3 separate regions of the Homo sapiens genome follow, and regions 1 and 3 are each linked to region 2. Evidence: promoter capture Hi-C in 16 types of primary human blood cells and fetal thymus (Javierre and others, 2016). All regions are on one chromosome and are shown on one strand. Each heading gives the region's core, a stretch centred on a gene start or on the middle of the fragment in contact. The rest is flanking DNA. Distances are from core to core; before and after follow the strand shown.

What was found. The method cuts DNA at HindIII sites, captures the fragments that hold promoters and counts their contacts. A CHiCAGO score of 5 or more calls a contact.
Region 1: a contact is called between a fragment that was not itself captured here and the fragment with the promoter of USP28 in region 2, in 8 of 17 cell types (total CD8 T cells, activated CD4 T cells, total B cells and 5 more). The highest score is 8.0, in total CD8 T cells.
Region 3: a contact is called between a fragment that was not itself captured here and the fragment with the promoter of USP28 in region 2, in 4 of 17 cell types (total CD8 T cells, naive CD8 T cells, non-activated CD4 T cells and 1 more). The highest score is 6.2, in total CD8 T cells.

The regions. Positions count from the first base shown.
Region 1 is chr11:114,442,517-114,446,464 of GRCh38, forward strand. REXO2 (RNA exonuclease 2) reads left to right here. Exons shown (of 7, transcript NM_015523.4): 3 at 1,340-1,417; 4 at 2,025-2,136; 5 at 3,463-3,571. Among named protein-coding and RNA genes, the nearest start is that of REXO2, 5.0 kb to the left of the region's middle. The HindIII fragment of the contact is 192 bases long and covers 1,272-1,463 here.
Region 2 is chr11:113,873,543-113,877,591 of GRCh38, forward strand. USP28 (ubiquitin specific peptidase 28) reads right to left here and starts at 2,030. Exons shown (of 26, transcript NM_001346252.4): 1 at 1,903-2,030. The coding sequence starts at 1,959. RefSeq lists enhancers at 1-418, 2,005-2,299, 2,289-2,538, 2,589-3,250 and silencers at 1,729-2,088, 2,109-2,268. The HindIII fragment of the contact is 13,869 bases long and covers 1-4,049 here.
Region 3 is chr11:114,385,926-114,390,139 of GRCh38, forward strand. No RefSeq gene overlaps it. Among named protein-coding and RNA genes, the nearest start is that of C11orf71, 12 kb to the right of the region's middle. The HindIII fragment of the contact is 1,112 bases long and covers 1,257-2,368 here.

The sequences.
Region 1 (3,948 bases), core at 118-2,617, 570 kb after region 2:
TAGTAGTAGGATGTCAGGCGTATTTTAATTAAATTCTAGCCATTTCTTTCAGTGATTGTGAACTGTTTTTACCACCTTAGTAGTAATAATACCTTGGATTTATGGAATACTTTTCTATCAGAGAGTTCAAAGAGCTCATATCTATAATTTCTTTTATCCTGTTAACATTTCTATGAGGGAAGGGGTACAGTTTATTATTATCACTATCTTACAGAGGGAGAAGCTGAGGTGACTTGCTTTAATGCCGTAGCTACTGTTAACTGCCAGGACTTATCTGAGAGACTCATACTTGGATGTTCTATGAAATGGAGCTGAGAATTTGAGGGCTACTTTGTGTTTTGGATATCAACAATTACCTCTTTAATTTTTTTTTAAATATAAAAATACTGTTAAAACAGTGTAACTATCCAAAGTATGTGTGTAGTGAACTATTGGATTTTTGTCCTGTTCTATTGCTCCTTCTTACTCCAAGTTTATGTATTGTCTTGATATTTTGTATGTTTATATAAATGCGTGTTTTTTTTAAAACAAGTGTAAATGAAATCATACCTATACATACATGGTTTTGCAATTGTTTTTTTCACCTGCAATATAGATACTTTTTTTTTTTAAGAGATAGGGTCTCACCCTGTCACCCAGGTTGGAGTGCAGTGGCATGTAGCTCACTGTAACCTCGAACTCCTGGGTTCAAGTGATCTTCCTGCCTCAGCCTCCTGAGAAGCTAGGACTGTAGGGGTGTGCCACCAGGCCCACCTAATTTTTTTTTTTTTTTTTTTAATTTTGTAGAAATGAGGTCTTGCTATGTTGCCTGGACTGGTCTTGAACTACTGGCCTCAAGTGATCCTCCCACCTCGGCCTCCCAGAGTGCTGGGATTACCATGCTTGGCCTAGACACTTTTCAAAATGAACTCATAATCAAGGGTTGACAGACTTTTCTGGAAAGAGCAAGTTATTAAATTGTTTAGGCTTTGAGTGCAGTCATATGTTCTTGTCATATGTTCTTTTTTTTTTTTAAACAATCTTTTACAAATGTAAAAATCATTCTTAGCTTTCTAGCTATTAATAAATAGCTGAAGTGTGGGGCCATAGTTTGCTGACCCTTGATAGATATCTGTGTCATCTATTTGTAGGATTAGAGTTTTCAGTGGTGTGTGTATGTTCGTATGTTCTATTTTGCCTTAATGAACAGTGCTGGAATGAAGGGGGAACACTTAAAGTATCCTTATCTCTTACTTTCTCTGATATGTATATTTAGTCCTTAAAACAGCTTAAGCTTTCCCTCTGAAAGTAAGGTTATTCCTGTTGTTTCTTGGTGACTGATGGCGTTTCCCATCCACAGGGTCCTAACCTGATTATAAAACAACCAGATGAGTTGCTGGACAGCATGTCAGATTGGTGTAAGGAGCATCACGGGAAGGTAACATTACCAAATAACAGGATTGCTGCTTTGGGGATCAGTAGCAAGCTTTTTGCTCCCACACCTGAATCCGATACCATTGTTGGATGGTATTTTAAAAAGGCTTAGAGAAGATTGCATGGCAAGCCTGGGAAACTGCTTGCTTGTTTACTTTTCATCTTTGGGACCTCTCGAGATCATCTTCTCCTGAATGTCCTCTTTTTTTTCTCTCCTACATTCAGTCTGTCGCGAACGCATTGTGGATTGTCAAGTATTACTCAAGTCAGTCTTTTGGATAAGGTTAGACATCAACTTTCAGAGAAGGGGGATTGCTGCTCTCCTGTTAATAGTTGTTTCTTCCCAGAGGTTAATATCCTTGGACTTTGAACACCGTCTTTTTTGACTGTGGACATGCTATTAACAGTCAGGATCATAACTAAGTTGGCTTGGATTCTTGAAGAAAAAAAAATGGTGCAAAGATGGCAGTTGCAATTTGAACTTGAGCTCTAAAAATGGTCTATTTGTGGTTATATTTGCCCATTTTAAAAGTGAAATTTCATTTCTGGATGCCTTTGAAAACTGACTTTACATGTGTTTTTGGTGGGGGGCTGGGGATTCTCTCTTGCAGTCTGGCCTTACCAAGGCAGTGAAGGAGAGTACAATTACATTGCAGCAGGCAGAGTATGAATTTCTGTCCTTTGTACGACAGCAGACTCCTCCAGGGCTCTGTCCACTTGCAGGTAAAATCCAATCCTGTGTATATCTTATAGTCTTCCATATGTAGTGGTTCAAGAGACTGCAGTTCCAGAAAGACTAGCCGAGCCCATCCATGTCTTCCACTTAACCCTGCTTTGGGTTACACATCTTAACTTTTCTGTTCAAGTTTCTCTGTGTAGTTTATAGCATGAGTATTGGGAAAATGCCCTGAAACCTGACATGAGATCTGGGAAACACAAACTTACTCAATAAGAATTTCTCCCATATTTTTATGATGGAAAAATTTCACATGCACAGAGGAGTGGATTTAGTAATTGTTAACCTTGTGTCGTATTTGTTTTACCTATTTTTTGTTGGACATTTTAAAGGAAATTGCAGGCATCAGGACACTTCATTCCTAAATACTTCATCAAACATCTCCTAAGATAAAGACATTTTCTTATGTAATACAATGTCATTGCATTGAAGATAATTAAACATTATTCAGTATCATATGATATCTAGTCCACATTAGATGTTCCCCAAAATATTTGTTTTTGAACCAGGATTCAGTCAAGGCTCGTGCATTTCATTTAGTTATATTTCTTTAGTCTCTTAATGTAAAACTTTCCACCTATTATTTTTCCCCTGTGTCATTGACTTTCTAAAGAGACCAGGCCTGTTCTACCAGGATTTTTAAAAGGGTGACATTGCCAGAGGGAAGTTAATGTTTCTCTGAAGGTATATGTACGTTTGTATATGTAAGTCGATGTGGTAGCTAATACTGTTCTTAAACATTTATAAAAATAAGTTTTGGCATTAAGTACTAGAGCATATATTGTGTAAATGTTTCCGCCAGCCAATGTGGCTGATATCTGTTTTAAAGGTCTCATTTAAAATTTAGTGTTTTTAGTATAAGTTACTTTTTGGGGACATAAATATGCATATGATTTGTTTAAAAATTTGGATTGTAAATAAAGGTTTATCTACCTATGTGATTCAGTTAAATTTTTAGTGTTAGTGGTGTGAATTTTGTGACACTGGGAGAAAGTTTGCATATCAGGTATGACCTTAGAAAGTAACAAATAGATTTGTGCATTACATCAAGCATGTGGAATGATAGATTTGTCCTTCTGTTCATGAGAGGTCATTTACAAATTTATAAGGAGCTAAACTGACTAAGTACTTGGAAATCTGTACTTGTAAGCTAATCACATTTACCCAAACCTGATTTAGAAATATAGAGGTGCTTTTAGGAATTGTTTGAATTTTAAAAAATCATCTCCATTTCAAATACAACTTATGAATTTTGATATCCTGTTGTATAATACTAGAAATATAGAGATGCAGTATGCTTCGTGTCTTTCTAGGAAATTCAGTTCATGAAGATAAGAAGTTTCTTGACAAATACATGCCCCAGTTCATGAAACATCTTCATTATAGAATAATTGATGTGAGCACTGTTAAAGAACTGTGCAGGTAAGGGCTATATTTAGGATCCATTAAATTACCTCATTTAGCATGTTTTAATTGAGAATTTGTGGAAAGTAATTGGATAGAGCTGTAGAACTAAGGCTACCAAGTGGGTTCATATCTTCCTCATCCCATTCTTGCTTGTATAGGACCTTAACTTACCCTGGACTGGTGAGAATTGGGAGCAACAACGTCAGACATGTTCCCAGTAAATAAGCCAATGCCTGGCACAAAATAAGTGCTCAATACATTTTCTGGATTAACTAATATTATGTGGAAGTCTTGTGACTGGGAACATATAGATGAAAAGCTCTTAAGTACTTTAGAAAATAGTGGATCGACATATGTGTAAAAAAACGCACCCTGAAAATATACTCTATGAT
Region 2 (4,049 bases), core at 780-3,279:
GCCACTGATTAATAGGCACATGGTCTTAAATGACTGAGCCACGACAAATTTAAATATGACTTCTCTCTCCCTTAAAATAGTCTCTTCTCTAAATCAATATGATAGTCTCCAAACTAAAATTTTCCCATGTTTTTAAATCACTGTGCTAAAAACAAATAGAACTGACCTCTGAAGCCAGAGAAAAATCTTGACACATTTCAATAGGCACTTGTGAACATCTAACAATATTTCCATTAGAAGTCAGTGCATGATACTTTCGTTTCGGAGCCCAGGACCTGGAAGTATCTTTTTCTACATGAGTTTTAAAAAGCGCATCCAGGCTGGGCGCCCTGGTTCACGCCTGTAATCCCAGCACTTTGGGAGGCCGAGGCGGGCGGATCATGAGGTCAAGAGACCGAGACCATCCTGGCCAACACAGTGAAATCCCATCTCTACTAAAAATACAAAAATTAGCTGGGCGTGGTGGCACGCGCCTGTAGTCCCAGCTACTCGGGAGGCTGAGGCAGGAGAATCGCTTGAACCCGGGAGACGGAAGTTGCAGTGAGCCGAGATCGCGCCACTGCACCCCAGCCTGGGCGACAAAGTGAGACTCCGTCTGGAAAAAAAAAAAAAAAAAAAGTGCGTCCAGACTGGGCGCGGTGGCTCACGCCTGTAATCCCAGCACTCTGGAAGGCCGAGGCGGGCGAATCACCTTAAGTCGGGAGTTTGAGACCAGCCTGACCAATATGGTGAAACCCCGACTCTACTAAAAATACAAAAATTAGCCGGGCCGGTGGCAAGCACCTGTAATACCAGCTACTCAGGAGGGTGAGGCGGAGGATGCAGTGAGCCGACATCGCGCCACAGCACTCCAGCCTAGGCAACAGAGGGAGACTCTGTCGAAAAAAAAAAAAAAAAAAAAAAAAAAGTGTCTCCATGCTAAATACTACTGGCCTTCCAGACAAAAGAGTAAAAAGGTATAAAAGGATTCTCACCTGAGGGTATCTGTCTGCCAGCTTTGTACGACAAATATAGTTTCTCATCTCCAAACTCGTATTTGAACAACTGGCACAGATTTCCCGTTTTCTCTTGAAAAAGTGCAGTACTTGAGGGGTGAGGAGGTGGTGTTAAGTTATAACATTCCGAAGTAACACTAGAAGACATGCTCAAATTGCCCTCTTCCCAAGTTTCTTCATACAGACATTAGCTTTTCTCTCAAACCAGGGTTCTTTCACTCTCACCAGATTCTTAGATCAGAAGTCCTTATATTGATTTCAATCTTCTTAGACATTGGGAACAGGAGATCATCATCAGTAGACTTTCTATTCATCACGCAGCTCCTCCCCCTCCTTAAAAATCTAGAGCGATGAAGGCAATAATTGGGGAGGCTGCGCTGTTTTGTTTTTAAAGCCGGGTTGGGAGGGAGGGAAGTGGTGGTAACTGGGACCCCTGGTCTTATAGAAGACGGTGATTAATTCCGGACTTTAAGTGAGATAACTTCGGTCTGCTTTAACCTTTTAAAAACGCCGCCATAAAACTGATTTAAAAGTCAAAGCAAAACAAAACCAACCAACGCTGCCGCTTTCGGAAGTTTCTCACCCCGGACGGGGCCCAGGAGGGCTCACCTTACTGATCCCTGCGGCGGAGAACCCCACGTCCAGCCCTTTATATTTGGTTTTCCAAAATCTGGAAATCCCCCTACAACTTCAGCTCGCCCACGGACGCGAAGATGCAGTCCTCAATCTCCGCGGCCCGAGCCCCGCAGAGCCCTTGGCCTTCTCACCCACGCTGGCGGGCGCACCCCCTGTCCCGCCCGGCCGGGGCGCCCTCCGCAGCCCGCAACCCGCAGCCCTGCAGGCCCCGCACGCTCCCCTCAGGGCCTGGAGCCCGCCCCCAGCTCCCGCTCGCCGCCGCGGAGCCCACCGAGCCGTGGCCGTCTGCCGCGCCGGCCGCGTCGTCCTGCTGCAGCTCCGCAGTCATGGCCGAGGCGCCCAGCCGCGGGTCACCGGTCTCCCGCCGCAGCCGCCGCCGGCCCAGCCTCTCAGGACTAGGCCCCGCCCCCGCCCTCCACCCCGCTCCGTCCCGCCCCCGCCCGCAGCGCGCGCCGGAGGCTTGGCCCACATGCCCCGCCCCCGGCATGCGCGCGCACGCAAGGCGCGCGGCCCGGGGCCGAACAGTTCTGCGTGCTCCCGCGCACGCCCGGCTGACCAGACGTCGGTCACGTGATCCCGGCCCCGCCTGTCGCTGTTGGTCAGCTTCACAGCCGGTGGAGGCTGCGGGCCGCGCTGCCAGTGTCCGGGAACTGGGTTTGCGAATCCTGGGAGCCGCGTTCCTGAGTCTTCTCCGCTCTCTGCCCTCAAAACCTCATTTGTAGGACTGACCTCCGGCTCCACCCTCCCCACGGGCGAGTTAAAACTGTTCCCCCGCCGTGGGAAACTGCCGAATGACCGTGGAATAAAGGATTTCCCATCAGGCTTTGTAGCCATTTCCAACTCCAATGACATGAAGAAGTGTTCACCATCTTTAAGGAGAGAAGGAGGATGAATGCAGTCGCTTGTCTAAAGCTAACCAAACGGACCAAAGCCTCCGTTCATGGGTGTCCCGCTTGGTGCCCTTAACCCTGATGCTCTTAACCTGGGCATGATAAGGAAAATTGCAGTTTTTCCATTTTCGATTTTCAGAAGTTCAAACTAAAATTTTGTGTTACTTTGTTACGTTTGAGCCAGATATTTACGATTTCATGTTAAAAGACCAGGTGCTCCTATTGAATTGTTTTTTGTTTGGTTGGTTTCGGTTTGTTTTTTTTTTTTTCTTTTTTTTTGAGACGGAGTCTCACTCTGTCCCCTCAAGCTGGAGTGCAGCCGCACGGTCTCGGCTCACTGCAACTTCCGCCTCCTGGGTTCAAGCGATTCTCCTGAGTAGCTGGGATTACAGGCACGCTGTACCACACCCAGGGTTTCACCATGTTGCCCAGGCTGGCCTCGAATTCCTGACCTCAGGTGATCCGCCCGTCTCGGCCTTCCATAATGCTGGGATTATAGGCGTGAGCCACCGCGCCAGGCCTGAATTGTATTTTCAACAACTGTGTGGGAATTGTGATTACTGAACCATGTTTCACATTTAAGATACAAATGTGTTATGATGGCAAACCCACTTGACAGGCTGCTGGGTGTCCCAAATCTGCGTAGAGGCTGAGTGTGGAAGCGCGTCTTTTAAGAGTAGCACCTACACCCTTGCCCTGGTCTGGTCTGACTCTCAAGCTACACTTTTAAGTGTGAATTTAACATGGACGGTGGCCTTTCCTATACTCCTGGCATTGTTGTCGCTGGGATTGTTATGTTTCACCTGCAGGCCTCCCTAGTCTGCATGCGGGCGCAGTTTTTGACAAAAGGAAACAGGTACAGGTCAGGTGCAGCTCCCAGGAGAGGCCAGATTACTCTCTGAGGCCTGAACTAGGACTCCTGCAACTTCCACCACCTGGAGATACAGGGATCCGCTTCCCCTGGCAGATTAACTGGCAGATTGGCATGGCTGCGGTGATACTAACTTGGAATCTTCCACATTCAACAGGCTGACTGTGTTTGTGTCTGCGAGTAGTAGGACATTTTATGTATGTGGCTCTGCCATTTTTCCTTTCCTCATGAGTGACTGTGTTTATGGCCTCAACCTGGGTGTCACTGTAGAACAGGTTGATTTCAGGTTGATGCTGGTTTTCTTTTTTTTTTTTTTTTTTTTTGAGACAGGGTCTCACTCTGTCACCCAGACTGAAATACAGTAGTGAGATCATGGCTCACTGCAGCCTTGAATTCCTGGGCTCAAGCAGTCCAACTGCCTCAGCCTCTGAAGCAGCAGGGACTTCATGCATGTGCCATGCCCAACTAATTTTTGTGTCTTTTTTATGGAGATGGGATCTCACTGTGTTGCCCAGGATGGTCTCAAACTTCTGGTCTCAAGCAATCCTCCTGCCTTGGCCTCCCAAAATTTGGGGATTACAGACATGAGTCACCACGCCCAGCCCACATTGATTTCTGAGTCTAGCTTATTTACAGCATTGCCTATTTCTACACTGC
Region 3 (4,214 bases), core at 563-3,062, 510 kb after region 2:
AAGAACTACAGAGCTAGCAATCAGGAAAAAACGATAGATATTTAAAGTTACTCTGCCATTTGATTAGCCCAAATGGCAAGTGTCTATGTTCACAATTCCTGCGTTCAATGTTCAATAGAAAAAAAGGAATGTGTTTTCTTCTCTGTCACAGTCAGGTGAGAAAGGATTAACTCAGCTACCTGACTTTTGAAATTTAATGGATGTATTTATGGAGGGATATTAGAGGTGACTGATCTTGATTCAAAAATGTTAAATTTCCTAAACCTGGACTATGTTTTCAAAAATTCAAGATGCATTTAACAAAGCAAGGAAAAATAAATTCAGGCTGCTAGCTTGGCAGCTGGTCTGGATACAGTATTTTGCTCTGTTTACTCTGTCAGGAAGCCAGTTCCATTTGATTAAATTCTGAAATTAGAATGCATGCACTCTGGAAGATACTAAGCAGCTTCATGCTTTTACCCGTATGGAAAACGTGATTAAGGAAATGAACTCAATGGCTGTAGCATCAGAAGAGATCAATGCAACAGCTGTATTCAACTGGGCTCAATGGGCTAGACCTTTACTTTATTAAAATGGATGGCTTTAGCATAGAAACTGTGTCCACATCACAAAACTGCCATATTGCTCTGAACTCAGGCCTAGAAAGGAGCCAAGTGGAACTGCCATCAAATATTATGGCAGCAGTGGAAATGAAGATCTGCTCTCACACCACAAAGCTAAAATTTAGCCAAAATGAGAGATAATTAAAGAATTTATATGCAGTATTTCCACACCAACATATTAGATTGTTTCCAAAACTGCTGGAATGTCATCATTTGGCAAGTTTGCCAGAATTCCCCCACAAAAATCTTGAAATTTCCTGTGGCGTGGCAACATCTTTTGCTTTGCCTGAAATGAAGTAGCCTATAAATATTAATTTATATGTAAAATATTGTCAGAGGCCAGCTACACCCAGATAACCCAGCAACAAAGACCTCACTGTGTCCATTTACCCAGTTAACAGCAAGAAAGTTGGGATTTTATTGGAAAATACTTACATTGTTGACCTATGATTGCCAAGTCTTCACTTTGGCCATATAGGCTTGTTAATAAGTTGAAAAATGAAATGGAATTGAGGTATTATTGTATCTGTGAAGTGCAGAGGATGTAAAGGAAGTATGACCTAAGAGATGTTGAACTGGAGGATGGTCGAGAAAGGACTTTCTAGAAACAGAAGTGCATTAATATAGACACTGTGCTCGAGGAGCTGATCCTCAAGCTTCAGATGTTAAGGAGCTCTTTGTAAGGGCCTCCAAATATGATGAGGTTCTTTGGAACTGTCTCATACTAACCAAACTGACAAGAAGTTGGTACATAAAGCAGAATGCCAATAACCATGTGCTATGGTTTGAATGTCCCCTCCAAAACTGAAGTTGAAATTTAATTGCAAATGTGATAATATTAGGAAGTAGGACCTTTAAGAAGTGATTAGGTCATAAGGGCTCTGTAGGAGTTTGGCACGTTTTTCTTTGTCTCAGCCCTTCCTTGCTCTTCTGCCATGGGATAACACATTGCACAGCATGAAGGCCTTCACCAGATGTTGGCATCATGCTCTTGGATTTCCCAGCCTCCATAACTGTTAACCAAATAAATGTATATTCTTTACAAATTACTCAGTCTGTGGCATTCTGTTATAGCAGCAGAAAATGGACTAAGACACCTTGGGGCTTGGAATGCTCAGATGAACTGAGTACACTCTCTCCCTGAAGACATGCTAGATCGATGTTTGCTTTTACAGCTTGGAGCAAGGGCAAAACAACAACAACAACAACAACAACAACAACCGATGGGTTTCACTTGGCAGTTTTATCTGGCCAGGCATGAGATGTTAGTGTTCTCACATTGGGGCACACACTTCCCTACAGGAGAAACCCTGGCAAATACTTGCTTATAAGATTGTCTCTTTATAAATACCATGTAGACTACCCTTTTTGCAATAAAATATTTTTGTTTATTTTCCAATTTTATTGAAATATATAATTTATATACAGAGCCAGGTGTGGTGGCTCACACCTGTAACCCCAGCTACTCAGGAGGTTGAGGTGGAAGGATCACTTGAGCCCGGGAGTTTGAGGTTACAATGAGCTATGATCACACCACTGCACTACAGCCTGGGCAATAGAGCGAGACCACATCTCTAAGTAAATAAGTAAATAATTTATATACAATAAATCCATCCATTCAAAATGTACGGCTTGATAAGTTTTGACTGTTATATATACCCATGTAATAATCATTACAATCAAACATAGAATATTTTCATCACCTTCCAAACAATTTCTGTGTCCTCTCTTCCCAATCAATTATCATCCTCAAGCAAGCCCCAATAAGCTTTTACCAATATACATTAGATTTATCTTTTCTAGAGTTTCATCTACGTAGAATCATATGTATATAGTCTTTTGTGTCTGGCTGCTTTCACTCAGCATGCTCTTGAGATTTATTGATGTTGTGTGTATATCAGTAAATAATTCCTTTTTATTGCTGAGTAGTACTTCATGGCATAAATATACTACAACTGTTTACCCACAATAGCCTTAGACAGTACTTTCAGAGTAAGTTTATAAGGTGCCCTCCTATTAGAGCCAATTATGAAATGGAACTTAATATAAGATGCAGTTAATTTTTGTTTTTTTTTTTATAGCCAGGGTCTCACTCTGTTGCCCAGGCTAGAGTGCAGGGGTGGGATCATAGCTCACTGTAACCTTGAACTCCTAGGCTCAAGCAAACCTCCTGCCTCAGCCTCCTGAGTAGCTGGGACTACAGGTACACACCACCACATACTAATTTTTTATTTTTTGTAGATACAGGATCTCACTAGGTTGCCTAGGCTGGTCTCAAAGTCCTGGCCTCAAGCGATCCTCCTGCTTCAGCCTCCCAAACCCCTGAGATTATGAGCGTGAGCCTGTGCCTGGCTAGGGTCTATTTTTAGTAGCCACATATAAAGAGGATTTAGTGACATCATCCTAAGACCTCATATATGATTTTACACATGTATATTTTGCACAATGATCAGAATGATGACCTCCCAAATCATATTATATACAGGCTCACACACATAACTTAGTTTTACAAATATATTTTAAAATGATTTAAAACAAGCATTGAAAAAAGGGCTTCCCAGAATTAAACAACGAAAAAACAAAAACATGATCTGCACATTTTAAATAAGGTTTTATATCTAGGTATTTTATAGATGTAAATAAACACACGTTAAACTAAAGAATGCCACCTTCTCCAGTTAATAAAGAGACTACTTGTGCTCAACAAATTCATTGAGTCCAGGGACCATAATCTAACCCACTATTGTATCAATATGAACCATCTTTGTTGTTTTTTTTTTTTTTTTCAAGACGGAGTTTTGCTCTTGTTGCCCAGGCTGGAGTGCAATGGCACGATCTCAGCTCACTGCAACCTCTGCCTCCTGGGTTCAAGTGATTCTCCTGCCTCAGCCTCCTAATAGCTGGGATAATTATAGGTGCCCGCCACCACACCTGGCTAATTTTTTGTATTTTTAGTAGAGACGGGGTTTCACCATGGTGACCAGGCTGGTCTTGAATTCCTGACTTCAGGTGATCCACCTGCCTCGGCCTCCCAAAGTGCTGGGATTACAGGCGTGAGCCACCATGCCCCGCCCAGAAAATACTTCTAAAACTTTAAATTATCTGTAAAATATTTAAATAAAGATATTACTATTTCTCTTTATTTCTTTTTTTTTTTTAATTAAAAAAATTTTTTTTGTAGAGATGGAAGTCTTCCTATGTTAACCAGCTGGTCTCCAACTGCTGGACTCAAGCAATTCTCCTGCCTTGGCCTCCTAAAGCACTGAGATCACCGGTGTGTGCCACAGCACCCAGCCTCTCTTTCTTTTCTTTTCTTTTTTTGAGACAGAGTCTCACTCTGTTGCCCAGGCTGGAGTGCAGTGGCACGATCTTGGTTCATTGCAACCTCCATCCCCTGGGTTCCAGTAATTCTTCTGCCTCAGCTTCCCAAGTAGCTGGGGTTACAGGCATAAGCCACCATGCTTGGCTAATGTTTGTATTTTTAGTAAAGACAGGGTTTCACAATGTTGGCCAGGCTGGTCTCAAACTTCTGACCTCAGGTGATCCACCCACCTTGGCCTCCCAAAGTGCTGGGATTACAGGCGTGAGCCACCACACCTGGCCTACAATCTT